2 separate regions of the Homo sapiens genome follow, and region 1 is linked to region 2. Evidence: promoter capture Hi-C in 16 types of primary human blood cells and fetal thymus (Javierre and others, 2016). All regions are on one chromosome and are shown on one strand. Each heading gives the region's core, a stretch centred on a gene start or on the middle of the fragment in contact. The rest is flanking DNA. Distances are from core to core; before and after follow the strand shown.

Evidence for each region. The method cuts DNA at HindIII sites, captures the fragments that hold promoters and counts their contacts. A CHiCAGO score of 5 or more calls a contact.
Region 1: a fragment that was not itself captured here is called in contact with the fragment with the promoter of EIF3M in region 2 in 3 of 17 cell types (non-activated CD4 T cells, total CD4 T cells and activated CD4 T cells); the score reaches 5.6 in non-activated CD4 T cells.

What each region holds. Positions count from the first base shown.
Region 1 is chr11:33,250,734-33,257,670 of GRCh38, reverse strand. HIPK3 (homeodomain interacting protein kinase 3) reads right to left here and starts at 290. Exons shown (of 17, transcript NM_005734.5): 1 at 1-290. RefSeq lists a silencer at 206-535. The HindIII fragment of the contact is 3,038 bases long and covers 1,065-4,102 here.
Region 2 is chr11:32,579,548-32,586,441 of GRCh38, reverse strand. EIF3M (eukaryotic translation initiation factor 3 subunit M) reads right to left here and starts at 2,611. Exons shown (of 11, transcript NM_006360.6): 1 at 2,513-2,611. The coding sequence starts at 2,554. RefSeq lists enhancers at 2,456-2,605, 2,248-2,900 and a silencer at 2,766-2,825. The HindIII fragment of the contact is 5,112 bases long and covers 1-2,896 here.

The DNA of each region.
Region 1 (6,937 bases), core at 1,334-3,833, 670 kb before region 2:
TGCTCTGGCTGCTAAGCGCCGGGCCCGTCTCCCTCATCTTCCTTCCCGGGGATTTGGGGTGGGGACGGCTTGGCTAGGGCGAGGGGTAGTGGGAGGCCGGTCGGCCTCCGGCTACTGGGGCCTACGGGCGACGCAGGGTGCGGGGCCCACGGCGATTGGGGCCCATTCCTGACGCCCCGGCCGGGAGCGGAGAAGGAAGACTGGCGGGAGTGGTGGCGACGGCGGGGCCTGCGGCTTGATCTCCTCAGGTCGCCGCGATGCCGGCAGTCGTCACTGAGGCAGCTGCCACCAGCCGCCCCAGCCTCGGGCCCCTCCTCCGCGCTCGTCGGCCTCGGCCACCGCCTCCGCAGCGCCACCGCCCGCCCGGCAGCGCTGCGCGCCCAGCCCGGGCGGCTCCGCTCCGCTCCGGCCGCGGCGCCTCCGTGAAGCCCCTCCCCGGGGTCCGCCCGCCAGTCCGCAGCCGCGCCCTTGTTGCCCGGAGCCCGCCTGCCAGCCCGTGCGGCCCCAACCCGGAGTCCCGCAAGCCAAGCCTCCCGCGAAAGAAGCATCCGTCAGCCCGGCTCTGCTGTTCTGAACCTCACTCCATGCCCCCTCCGCCAGAAATACACATTTTTAAAAAAGATCCCAATACCCGAAGAAAGGATGAAGATGCGGAAGCAGGATTTTACAGGCCTTTCGAGATCCCGGAACCGTAATTAAGGATCTGTTTCTCGGCATTTGGTCGTTAAAGGTCCCAAAATAAGTAAAGGGGAAATGCTCAAATGAACGACCTCAATCTAAACTAGGTTCTACCCGCTCCCCTATCCCAAAGAGTGAAGAGAATTGTAAAGCCAGGTTCAAGGACGGGGGAAGGGTCCTCTTGGAAATTTTAAGAGCATCTCTACTGTCCAAAACCCCATAATTGTGAAGTTCGCCCACCTCCACATTGGTAATTCTCCGTTAAATTAGTCGGTTTAACTCCCAAAGACTAGTTTCTTTCCTCCTGGAGATTAGGAAATCAACAGAATGGCCTGTTTCAGCTTACATAATCGTGGAACCATAGAATTTTAGGAATGAAAGAAGCTTTGCGATCCTTGGTCCCAACTCTTACACTCAGGAGTTCCAAGAAGTTTAGGTGACATGACCAAGGTTATACAGTAAAGCCCATGTCTCCCACCCCATCTTTCCTCCTTTTCCCTAGGAAACAAATGGCTTTCTAATACCTCACATTCAGAGTTGATTTTCTTTTATACCCGTTTCCTCAGGTTCCCTTTGTTCTGAATCAATGTCTAACCTTTTGGGAAACAAACACCTTTCTGGAATGGAAGTGTCCTTTCTTTGTTTCCTTCATAATCTTCACTAGCAAGATTGAATTTACCAGAGATGTATTTATTCCCAGAAATTTTCTATTGCAGTAACTGGGGCAGGGCAAAGGGAGTGGCAAATTGCTGCATACATAATACACATTTAATCCCTGCTGCTCTTCAAACCGGAAGATGAGTATTTTGGATAATGCCTTTAAGAGACAAAGGAGGCCGGGCGCGGTGGCTCGCACATGTAATCCCAGCACTTTGGGAGGCTGAGGCGGGTGGATCACCTGTGGTCAGGAGTTCAAGACCAGCCTGGCCAACATAGTGAAACCTGGTCTCTACTAAAAATGCAAAAATTAGCTGGGCGTGGTGGCGGGCGCCTGTAATCCCAGCTACTCGAGAGCTGAGGTAAGAGAATCGCTTGAATCGCTTGAGCCACTGCACTCCAACCTGGGCGACAGGGAGAGACTCTGTCTCAAAAAATAAAATAAAAGAGAAAGGATAGTATGCCCTGAGGCCACTGGAAATAACACTTTCGAATGACAGTTGTTTTCAGGTTAGAGAGGATAACCAGCTGAAAAGGCTTCCAATATAGAAGAACAAAACAATGGCTGCCTTTCAGAGAGATAGCCTATGAACCATTCCTTTTCACTTAGTATTTCGTTACTTTTTATTTTTCTTAAGAACAATAGTCAAAAGAATCAAAGAGGATAAAATCATTTACTCAACGGAGAAAGCTACAATAGTAGAAAAATCTGTCAGGAGGAACAGAGAAACTATTCCACTAGAACTTCAAATTTCAGAATTTTTGCAGACATTTAAGGAGGCCATCTCTAATGGAAGGCTTCCATTCCCTGTATTTGCTACATCCATGAAGAGATGGAAATGAGAGACAAGGATTTATTTTCCTTTCTATCTCCTGCATGTTGCTACTCACTACACTATATATTCCAGGAGGGGATTCATTCATCTTTTTTTTTTTTTAGATGAAGTCTCGCTCTATTGCCAGGGTTCAAGCAATTCTCCTGCTTCAGCCTCCCGAATAGCTGAGACTACAGGCATGCCCCACCATACCCAGCTAATTTTTGTACTTTTAGCAGAGACGGGGTTTTACCATGTTGGCCAGGATGGTCTCGATCCCTTGACCTCGTGCTCTGTCCACCTCAGCCTCCCAAAGTGTTGGGATTACAGGCATGAGCCACCACGCCCGGCCTCATCTTTTTTTTTAACCATTATATTGCAAGTGCCTAATACAGTGCCTGACTTGTGGTAAGACCTTAGTAAATGTTGCAAAATAAGTAAATGATATATTCCAGCCCCCCTTCACTTTATACCTATTGTCTCCTAACCTAATTTCTTTACCTCTAATCTCTTCCCCTTCAAATCTTTCTTTTTTTGAGGCACGATATCAGCTCCTCTGCCTCCCAGGTTCAGGCGATTCTCCTGCCTCAGCCTCCCAAGTAGCTGGGACTGCAACTTCCGCCTCCCAGGTTCAGGCGATTCTCCTGCCTCAGCCTCCCAAGTAGCTGGGACTACAGGCCCGTGCCACCACGCCCAGCTAATTTTTTGTATTTGTAGTAGAGATGGGGTTTCACCATGTTAGCCAGGATGGTCTTGATCTCCTGACCTGACAGAGTCTAATTTTGTCACCCAGGCTGGAGCACAGTGGTGTGATCTCCATTCACCACAGCCTCAACTCCCTGGGCTCAAGGGATCCATCCACCTCAGCCTCCCACCTAACTGGGATTACAGACACGCACCACCACAGCCAGCTATTTTTTTTTTATTTTTAGTATGGAGATGCGGTTTCATTATGTTGGCCAGACTGGTCTGGAACTCCTGGCCTCAAGTGATCCGCCCACCTCAGCCTCCCAAAAGTGCTGGGATTTCAGGTGTGAGCCACTGCGCCTGGCTTTCAAATCTATTCTGAACACAAACATCTAGATAATCTCCCAAAGCCCCTAATGTAGCTATTTTACAAAGTTTGAGGGTTGTTTTTTTTTTTTAAGGAAAATTTCTCATAGTGCTAAGATCTCTCAAAAATGCAGGCTGGGGGAGGGCATGGTAGCTCACATCTGTAATCCCAGCACTTTGGGAAGCTGAGGTTGGGGGATTGCTTGAGCCCATGAGTTCCAGGCTGCAGTGAGCTGTGATTTCGCCACTGCACTCCAGGCTAAGTGACAGAGCAAGATCTTGCCTCTAAAAAATAAAACAGGAAGATACTAAAGAAAACCTTAATGTTTTCATTCAAAAAAATTACTTAAGGGCCAGACTTGGTGGCTCACACCTGTAATTCTATCACTGAGCAAGACCTAGCCTCTTCAAAAACCCCTCTCTCTCTACAAAAAATACAAAAACTAGCCTGGCCTGGTGGTGCACGCCTGTAGTCCCAGCTACTCGGGAGGCTGAGATGGGCCCTGAGGCTGCAGTGAGTTGTGATCACACCACTGCACTCCAGCCTGGGCGACAGAGTAAGACCCTGTCTCTGAGTAAGTAAGTAAGTAAATAAACAAATAAAATCCTTCACAGAACTAGCCCACAAGGAACTCAATCAACTTTTTGTCTCCTTACTCCAGCCACTCTCTGGAGCTCCGTAGGTGCCTGGATCACCTTCTGCCTGAAACATTCCTCAAGTATAGCCATCCACCTTTCTTTCCTGTCCTTACTCAAATATTGCCTTCATGGTGAAGCCTCCTCTTCAGCGATGACCACCTATATTTACATTCCCTGTCTTTATCTTTCTCTTTAGGGCTTGCCATCATCTTAGATACTATGATATATATTTTCTGTTCCCTTGTCCCTCAAGGTAAGCTTTCACAGGGCAAGAATTTTTGTCTGTTTTCTTGATGCTTTGATCCCCAGAGCCTAGAACAGGGCCTTGCATGTAAAGGGAACTCAAATATTTGTAAAGTGAAAAAATAAATTTTCTATGGAATCAGTAAGAAACCCTCCATAAACTCAGACTGCGAGCAGTCACAATTGTTTGAGATCACCTAGCCATGAAATCCAAGCCCTCTCTCTCAGCTATTCCTCCCACCTCTACCTCCAAAAATTACTCTGCCCAGGCCAGGCGTGGTGGCTCATGCCTGTAATCGCAGCACTTTGTAAGGCCAAAGCGAGTGGACCACCTGAGGTCAGGAGTTCGAGATCAACCTAGCCAACATGGTGAAACCCCGTCTCTACTAAAAATACAAAAATTAGCTGGATGTGGTGGCACACACCTGTAATCCCAGCTACTCGGGAGGCCGAGGCATGAGAATAGCTTGAATCTGGGAGGCAGAGGTTGCAGTGAGCCGAGATCACACCACTGCACTCCAGCCTGGGTGACAGAATGAGACTCTGCCTAAAAAAATAAATAAATAAAAATAACATTACTCTTCCCAAAGGAGGCCAGTCCTCCTCGCACTCACCTTGTGTTCTTCGCTGCCATTGCTCCTCGTTAAACCACATATAGGTGTTCCTGTGAAGAGATGGCCCTCCGCAGTCTCCACAAATGATGCCGACGCTTCTGTCCAAAGCCATGCAGTTTCAAGAAAAAGCTGGGAACTTTTTCAGAGCCTGAGTCACCAATCCACACTCCCCTTCCTCAGGGAAGTTGGTTGTTGTTTTGTTTTTGTTTTTTTCTCTAGTCCTTGGGTATCCTTTCTTACCATTACACCTTGGGAGAATAGGAGGTACCCTGTCAACCAAAAATAGCCCCCTAGTTACTAATATCAAGGAGGAGAGGTTCACCAAGGGGACTTCTGTCTCCTCCCTCCCAGGAGGTCCTGGCTTTTTTTTTTTTTTTTTTTGAGGTGGAGTTTCGCTCTTGTTGCCCAGGCTGGAGTGCAATAGCTCGATCTCAGCTCACCGAAACCTCTGCCTCCCGGGTTCAAGCGAAACCTCTGCCTCCCGGGTTCAAGCGGTTCTCCTGCCTCAGCCTCCCGAGTAGCTGGGATTACAGGCGTGCACCAACACGCCCGGCTAATTTATGCGTTTTTAGGAGAGACAGGGTTTCACCGTGTTGATCAGACTGGTCTCCAACTCCTGACCTCAGGTGATCCGCCCACCCCAGCCTCCCAAAGTGCTGGGATTACAGGTGTGAGCCACCACGCCCGGCAGTCCTGGCTTTCTTATATAAATAATCTGTCTTCTTCCTGGAGATCAGCTTTGTATACCCGAGCCTCAGGAAGGGGCAACTGGAATGGAAAAAAAAAAAAAAAATCCATTCAGGAGTGTGCCACTCCTACCACTCTGCATAACCAAAAAGCCCAGTCAAGTAACTCTTTGCAGCCCAAAGATTTGTTTCTCCTTCTGAAAAAAAAAGAAGAAAGAAACTGTTTCCACTAAATTTTACAGATAAAACACTCATATTTTTAGAAGTTCACAATCTCATCTTTATCTGGGAGTTAGGTACTACAGTCAGCGCAAGGCAAAAATCTCACATAGTAAAATTAATCCTTGAAAATTACCTCAATTACCCATAAAGCATAATATACATTGTTTTGTATATACAACCTGAACATGTCTATATTAATGATATGTTACTTATATGTCTATATTAATGATATGTTACTTATAGTTAGTCATAAATTAAATTTTCACGTTTCACCTCTTGGAGCACTTCAGAAATTTTATGAAGATTATAATAACTGGTTAGCTTTTTCAGTTTCTTTCTGTTCTTTCTGTTTTTTTTTTTTTTTTTTTTTTTTTTTTTTTTTTTTTTTTTTTTTTTTTGTCAGGGTCTTGCTCCATCGCCCAGGCTAGAGGGCAGTGGCACAATCACAGCTGGCTGCAGCCTCGACTTTCCAGGCTCAAGTGACTCTTCTGCCTCAGCCTCCCGAGCAGCTGGGAATAGAGGCATGTGCCACCACACCTGGCAAATTTTTGTACATTTTGTAGAGATAGGGTTTCACCATGTTGCCCAGGCTGATCATCTTCTTTATATACAGTCTAGTAATCACCCTCTTTGTCAAAGTTTTGCTAGAGCCCTCAATTAATCATTCAATTTCTTCCTCCAGGATAATGAATACACTAGCATGTCACCCCATCTGACACCCAAATAATCTCTCTGTGGTTGGGGAATCATTAAAGTACTTGGCACATTATCTCCATAGGTTTTTGCCAAAATGCACCTTTCAGATTTGATTGAATCATTGCCCACGTGCTTCAGCAACTTGAATGGAAAGTCCTGCCAGCACTCACACCATTTACATTGTTCTTTCTCTCCAGAGCTGCTGTATTTAGTTCTCAGAAGTTAAAGGAACTTAAAATGCAATATAATGAACTAACATCAGTTTTATATTTTAAAAAATGTTTAAACTAAGGTAATGCAAAACAAGGCAAGTAAGCCTTCAATCTTTTTTTCATCTCAACATTTCCCTGCTCACAAACCTTAGGACTATTGTTTTACCTACTGAAAATGTCCCTGTGTTTTAGTTTGGCTGTTGAGGCACATTACAGTTGGATCCCATAAAACCTTTTAGCCATTTTTCCTGTACTTCCGTATGATCCCACCAAAGAGTTCTTTTCCCTTTCCCCAACTCTAACCCTTATTTCTCCATGCCCAGTAGCCATTCTTCAAAGTCAAAGTTAAATGTTCACCCTTCCAAAAAGCTTTGATTGAACATCCAATTCTTGTGTGTGTGTGTGTGACAGCGTTTCACTCT
Region 2 (6,894 bases), core at 1,362-3,861:
TGTAACTAATCTCTTAAAATTAAAAATGCATATCTGAGTCAGCATGCATCTTCGGACCTATAAAAACACAACTACAATAGCACATTCAGTCACTTGGACATTTCCTACCCTACTACCGAATTATATATATTTATTCCATTTTTCTTCTGGGACTCTTTATGGCAGCCAAACAAACGCAGTTTTTTTTTGTTTTGTTTTGAGATGGAGTTTCACTCTTATTGCCCAGGCTGGAGTGCAATAGCATGAGTGCAATGGAGCGATCCCGGCTCACTGCAACCTCTGCCTCCGGGGTTCAAATGATTCTCCAGCCTCAGCCTCCCAAGTAGCAGGGATTACAGGCATGCGCCACCATGCCCAGCTAATTTTGTATTTTTAGTAGAGGCAGGGTTTCATCATGTTCGTCAGGCTGGTCTCAAACACCTGACCTCCGGTGATCCACGGGCCTCGGCCTCCCAAAGTGCTAAGATTATAGGCGTGAGCCACCGTGCTCAGCCTGGTTTTAAAGATAATAAAATGAGGATGTGCAACAGGAATATGAAAGGATACCATTAGTAAATGCACAGGCATTACATTTTCTAGACCAAGCCAAAAAAAAAAAATTCAAAGCCATCAAGATTTTTAAACCCCCAAGTATATTTAGTTGCCTCAGGAAAGTATTAAACCTGCAGATCTGACGGTACTATCCTTTCAGGTAACAAGAACACAGTAACTTCATAGAAGAGTTGGTATTATAAGCAAAATTAAAAAAAGAAAACAAACTGTCACCATGTCAGAGAAAACAAAAATACCTCCAGAAATCATGCTTCATGCTTCTCTATGGAGGAAACAGATACACAGCAAACTTTTTCTAAGAACTATTGAACCACGTTTGCTGTTTTTCTGTCATCCTCACTGCCACAAGTGGTTGTGGAAGCAGCATAAGCAAAGGAAAACAAAAAAAGATAAAGAATTCCATTTAACTCTAATCAAGCTGAGAATTTCACCAAAGTTAAACTAATCCTGAGCAATTTCATATTTCCCTGAAAGGACTGTCTACAGCGATACTGATGTTACAAGAACAGAAGCAGAGCCTGAGAAAAGACACTTTAAGATACGATCAATGACAAGAACTTCCTCCATTCACTTTGTATGTTAAAAAAAAAAAAATTCCAAACACTTTCTCAGTTAACCTAACAGCCAACTGTTGGTAACATGCTTCCATTTCTAATCAGGTATCTTTTTGTCTTTCATATCTTCCTATCTGTGCTTAACCTCCCCATCCTTGACCTTTTCTCCGCCTTTTGCATTTTCCCTTCTTACTTTGCTCTTCAGAGCATCGGAACTGCATTCCTACCATGGGGCGGGGGGAGGAGAGAGGGGGAACTCACTCCCGCAATTCTGTAAGTTGTCTTAGACAAGTAAACTTCCATGCGAAGTTTATGATATCCAATCATTTGGAAGTTACTTCCGTGTTAGTGGAGTAACAGAAATAAAACGACAAAGTTAGGACTTCACAGAAGAATTTTCAGCAATACAAAATTAACTTAAAGAATACGATGTCGTGTTCAACTCCTACCAAATAAGGTTAAACTTTTGTTATGGGGAAAATGAGAACCATCAGCCCTGTATACCAAAGAGCAAACGCCAAACGGGAAATTTAAAAATATCAGGATGGTCCATCAGGTGTATGCCTCACAGAATTTAAGAGCTGAACTGATACCATACTTCCGGGGTACAGAACAACTCTCACCCTCATACAAGTAGGAATAGAAAGCAAGTGTAAAATACGGGTCGTCTTCGCCTGTGATCGCACAGTAATACGGGCGTTTTGATCTTTTTTTTTTTTTTTTTTTTTGAGAGGGACTCTCGCTCTGTCGCCCAGGCTGGAGTGCAGTGGCGCGATCTTGGCTCACTGCAAACTCCGCCTCGCGGGTTCAAGCGATTCTCTTGCCTCAGCCTCGGCAGTAGCTGGGACTACAGGCGCGTGCCACCGCGCCCGGGTAATTTTTTTGTATTTTTAATAGAGACAGGGTTTCACCGTGTTAGCCAGGATGGTCTCGATCTCCTGACCTCGTGATCTGCCCGCCTCGGCGTCCCAAAGTGCTGGGATTAAAGGCGTGAGCCACCGCGCCCGGCCCGGCATTTTGATCTTTAGCACAAAATTACTTTTCCCTACCCTGCTTATGCTAACTACAGATTCACCACCTCCCACTCCGAATGTGGCTGCATTTGACGGACGGAAGCAGACATCATTCCTCATCAGTCTAAAAGTACTATGTCGTCAGAAATGAGTCCCGACGCCGACCAGGGAGCTGGCGGTGAAGCGTCGGGCCCCGCGCTGGGACCGCCGGCCGGCGAGCTGGTGCGAATCGAGGCCAGGAACGCGCGCCCCAGCCACCGGCCTCCCCATTCTCGCGTGTAGAACAGCTGCGGGTGTCAGCCCCGGCCGCCCGGCCCAGGCTCGGCAGCGGTCCCTTGCGCTACTAGGACATCCCCCACCCCACCGTGGCGGCACCCGTAGACCGAAGCACACCTGATCTTCTTCACTGATGTCGATGAAGGCCGGGACGCTCATGGTGCAGGCCCGGGCACAGCGGACACTCCACTCGCAAGACCACGCCGACCGGAAAAGGGAACTGGGCCGCGCGACGCTGCTGGCGCAACTGCTTCCGGGTCACCCTGAGCGGCGACCTGTTGGGGCGGGGCCTTGAGAGCCAATCCTATCGCGCGCTCTCGCCGCGGAATGCAGCAGGGCGTGGCAGACGCGCTCGGGCTGGCCTAGTGGGTGGGACTTACTGGGCCTCCACTCAGCGACGCTTGTCGCGGCCTCCAGTTTTCAGGCCCGTGTAGCTAACTGCATTGATGTTGCCTCCCGCTGGCGCCTCCCTAAGTCCACCTTCCCTTGAAATGTTAAGCTTGTTGGGTCTTACCAAGTATGGATGGGTTTGTGTAGACCTGAAACTCTCCTGTACTGCTGTTGGGAACATAAAATGGTGCAGTCACTTTGCAGAGGAGCGGCAGTTTCTGAAAAAGTTCAGTATCCACCCAGCATATGACCCAGCTATTCTTCTACCCAAACTGTATGTCCGTACAAAGACTTGTACAAGAATGTTCATTGCCGCTTTTAAAAAATAGCAGCTTTGGCTGGGCGCAGTGGATCTCACGCCTGTAATCCCAGCACTGTGGGAGGCCGAGGTGGGCGGATCACTTGGGGTCAGGAACTGGAGACCAGCCTGGGCAACATGGCAAAACCCCGTCTCTACTAAAAATACAAAAATTACCGGGGCATAGTGGTGCGCGCCTGTAATCCCAGCTACTCGGGAGGCTGAGGCAGGAGAATCACTTCAACCTGGGAGAAGGAGGTTGCAGTAAGCCCAGATCATGCCACTGCATTCCAGCCTGGGCGACAGAGCGAGACTCCGTCTCATAAAATAAATACACAATTCAGTAGTTTTTAGTATTTTCAGAGTTGCACAACCATCACTACTATTTAATTTTAGAACATTTTCATCACCTACAAAAGAAACTACCCATCAGCAATCACTCCCCAGACCCCCGGCCCCACCTCTCTCCAGCCCCTGGCAAACACTACATTTTGTCTCTATGAATTTGCCTTTTCTGGACATTTCATGTAAGTGGAATCACAAAATACACGGTGGCCTAAGTCAGACTTACTTCATTTAGCATAATGTTTTCAAGGTTCGTCCATGTATCCCTCCTATATTCCTATTTATTGCTTATAATATTGCATTGTTATGGATATACCACATTGTGTTGATTTGTTCATCAGTTGGTGGACACTTGGGTTGTCTCCATTTTTTGGCTATTATGAATAATGTTTCCATGAACGTTAGTGCACAAGATTTTGTGTGTACGTATATTTCTCTTAGGTATGTACCTATGAGAGGAATCAGTGGCTTATTTAGTAAATTTATGTTTAGCTTTTTCAGGAGACAGTTTCCAAAAAGTTAACACTTTATTTTCAATAGCCAAAAAAAAGGAAACAACCCAAATGTTCATCAATAGATGAATGAAGTGGATCAAAAAATTGTTATACATCTGCTTAATGGAATACTGCTGTGCAACAAAAAAGGATGAATTATTGATACATGCAAAAACACAGATGAATCTTTTTTTTTTTTCAGTCTCTTCAGCCTGGGTGACAAAGTGAGTGAGACTCCATCTCTTAAAATAAAAGCTTGATTTTTTTTCTTTAGTTGACAATCCCAAAATAATTCAAAATAATTTTGTTCAGTTAATCATCATACTGTATGATTCCATTTATATAAAACTCTAGAAAGTAGAAACTATAATGACAGCATTATAGATTGCTGTTGCCTGGGGGCAGGGATTGGGTAAGGCGGGGGGAAAGATGGATACAGAGGGGCTTGAGGAAGTTTTTGGGGGTTATGGATGTGTTCATTATTTTGACTGTGATTGTGTCATGATTGTATACATATATAACATTTTTCAAAGTGTGCAGTTCAAAAATGTGCAGTTTATTGATACCACAATTATACTTCAATATAAAATAAATGCCAAGCAAAGGAAAAAAACAAGGTTGAGGGGATAGAGGACACAAAACATCTGGCTAGACTAAATTTGAAAGGATTCATTCTTGCATGGAATAGCCTTAACAATGTGGAAAGTGAAACTGAAGGCAGGGAACCTGTGTCATGTTCACCCTGCATTTCCGCACCCACCTCAGTGCCCAGCCCACAGCAGATCATCAGGAAATACCAGTTGATTCTGAAGGAATAATCCCTGGGCTCCTCCCCTCGCCTTATTATTGCAAAGTTCGAGGAATACAAACTCAACAATACAATACCATTTTATCAAATATTTAAAAGACTTGTCTCTTTTTTACTATTGTTATTTTTTTTTTCATTCTGTGATCCTTGTGAAGTAAAAGAACACCCAGGGAAATTCTTGAGAGAGGATATGGACAGTTATTTAAAACTTTAAACTTTCATTCATTCAAAATAAACACACACACACACACACACACACACACACACACACACACACGATGGAGGTGTGGTAGGCCCGAGTAGTCTTGGGAAATGCAACATTTGAGTAGGAAATGCGGAAATGCCTGTCCTCAGTTATTTAAAACTTTAAACTTTCATTCATTCAAAATAAACACACACACACACACACACACACACACACAGGATGGAGGTGTGGTAGGCCCGAGTAGTCTTGGGAAATGCAACATTTGAGTAGGAAATGCCTGTCCTCACCTAGGTCAGGATGAATCTTGTGAGACAAAGTAGCAAACCTAAGAAGGAATGTTTGCTCATTCTGTTTGCCAGAGAATTTCGCAAAGCCCCTGACTCAGTGAGTGAGGGCAACCCTCTGGAAGAATACCCTAAAGATAAACAGGATAGAGCACAGGTCCCCATTCTCTTGCCTGAATCACTGCAGTTTTAGAAAACATAAGTTCAATGATCCTAGCCTCTGCCTCTTCATGTGCATGGGTATAATGCACACCCATGTCTGACAGCAATAATGATTATGTCTCCATAATCTATAACCAGATGGACCCTGGCACCCAAACCATGATGTGATTTCGCTCTAATGTAACTTCTGAGCACATTTAATGTAACTTCTGAGCACAGGCAGAGCCACCACTGATGTACACAAACTGTGTGCGGAAACACTGCTTTGGAGCAGTTTAACAGAAACTCTCTGGAAGACTCTCTGGGTTGCAATCCTCGGTAAGACCTCTGAATAAAACTAACTTTAATTCTTTAAAAGCTTGGCTGGTGCGGTGGCTCATGCCTGTAATCCCAGCACTTTGGGAGTCCAAGGCAGGTGGATCACTTGAGGCCAGGAGTTCCAGGCCAGTCTGGCCAACATGGTGAAACCCTGTCTCTACTGAAAATACAAAAATTAGCTGGGACCTGGTAGGCTGAGGCAGGAGAATCACTTGAACTCAGGAGGTGGAGGTTGTAGTGAGCTGAGATCACGCCACTGCACTCCAGCTTGGGCGACAGAGTGAGACTCCAAAAAAAAAAAAAAAAAAGGAAAAGGAATCACCAGGGAGTTGAACAAAGCCCCACCATCTGCAAGGCAGTATTATCTTAGTTTAATTTTTACCTGAAAAATACAACCAAATATGTACAGTTTTTCTTTATTGTTTAATTTGTCTATGTTCCCTTTGTTATCTCCTTTCTGATTAAAAATTCCGGAAAATGTGGATTTAACTATGTTTTTAAGTATTCTATTTGCAAGAGCCATATTAATATATTTGCTTGAAATTGTATTATTGGAGCAAAGTTATATTTTTTACAAGAATGCTTTGCATGACAGTAATATCTAAAATTTGTTTTCAAGTCTGTATCAGCATCTCAGAATGAGGCAATTATTCATCTGATAAACGAAAGTATATTTTTATGCTAAAATAGTATATGTGGCCAGGTGCGGTGGCTCATGTCTGTAATCTCAGCACTTTGGGAGGCTGAGGCAGGCAGATCACCTGAGGTCAGGAGTTCGATCAAGACCAGCCTGGCCCCCATCTCCACTAAGAATACAAAAATTAGCTGGGTTTGATGGTGGGTACCTGTAATCCCAGCTACTTGGGAGGCTGAGGCAGGAGAATCGCTTGAACCCGGGAGGGGGAGGTTGCAGTGAGCTGAGATCGCGCCACTGCACTCCAGCATGGACGACAAGAGCAAGACTGTCTCAGAAAAAAAAAAATAGTATATGTAGTTGATTACCTAAATACTAAGACTATGTATAGAGGGTAATCCATTCTAAATAGGTGTCATTTATAGTATATTAGCACATCATACTTTTACTGAGTTGATGAACTATGAGCTCTGAAAAAGTGGGGATGTGTTCATTATTGCATCCCATCCCTTTTTTATCAACGTGCCTGATAGATGGTGCAATAAGTATTTGTTGTATTAG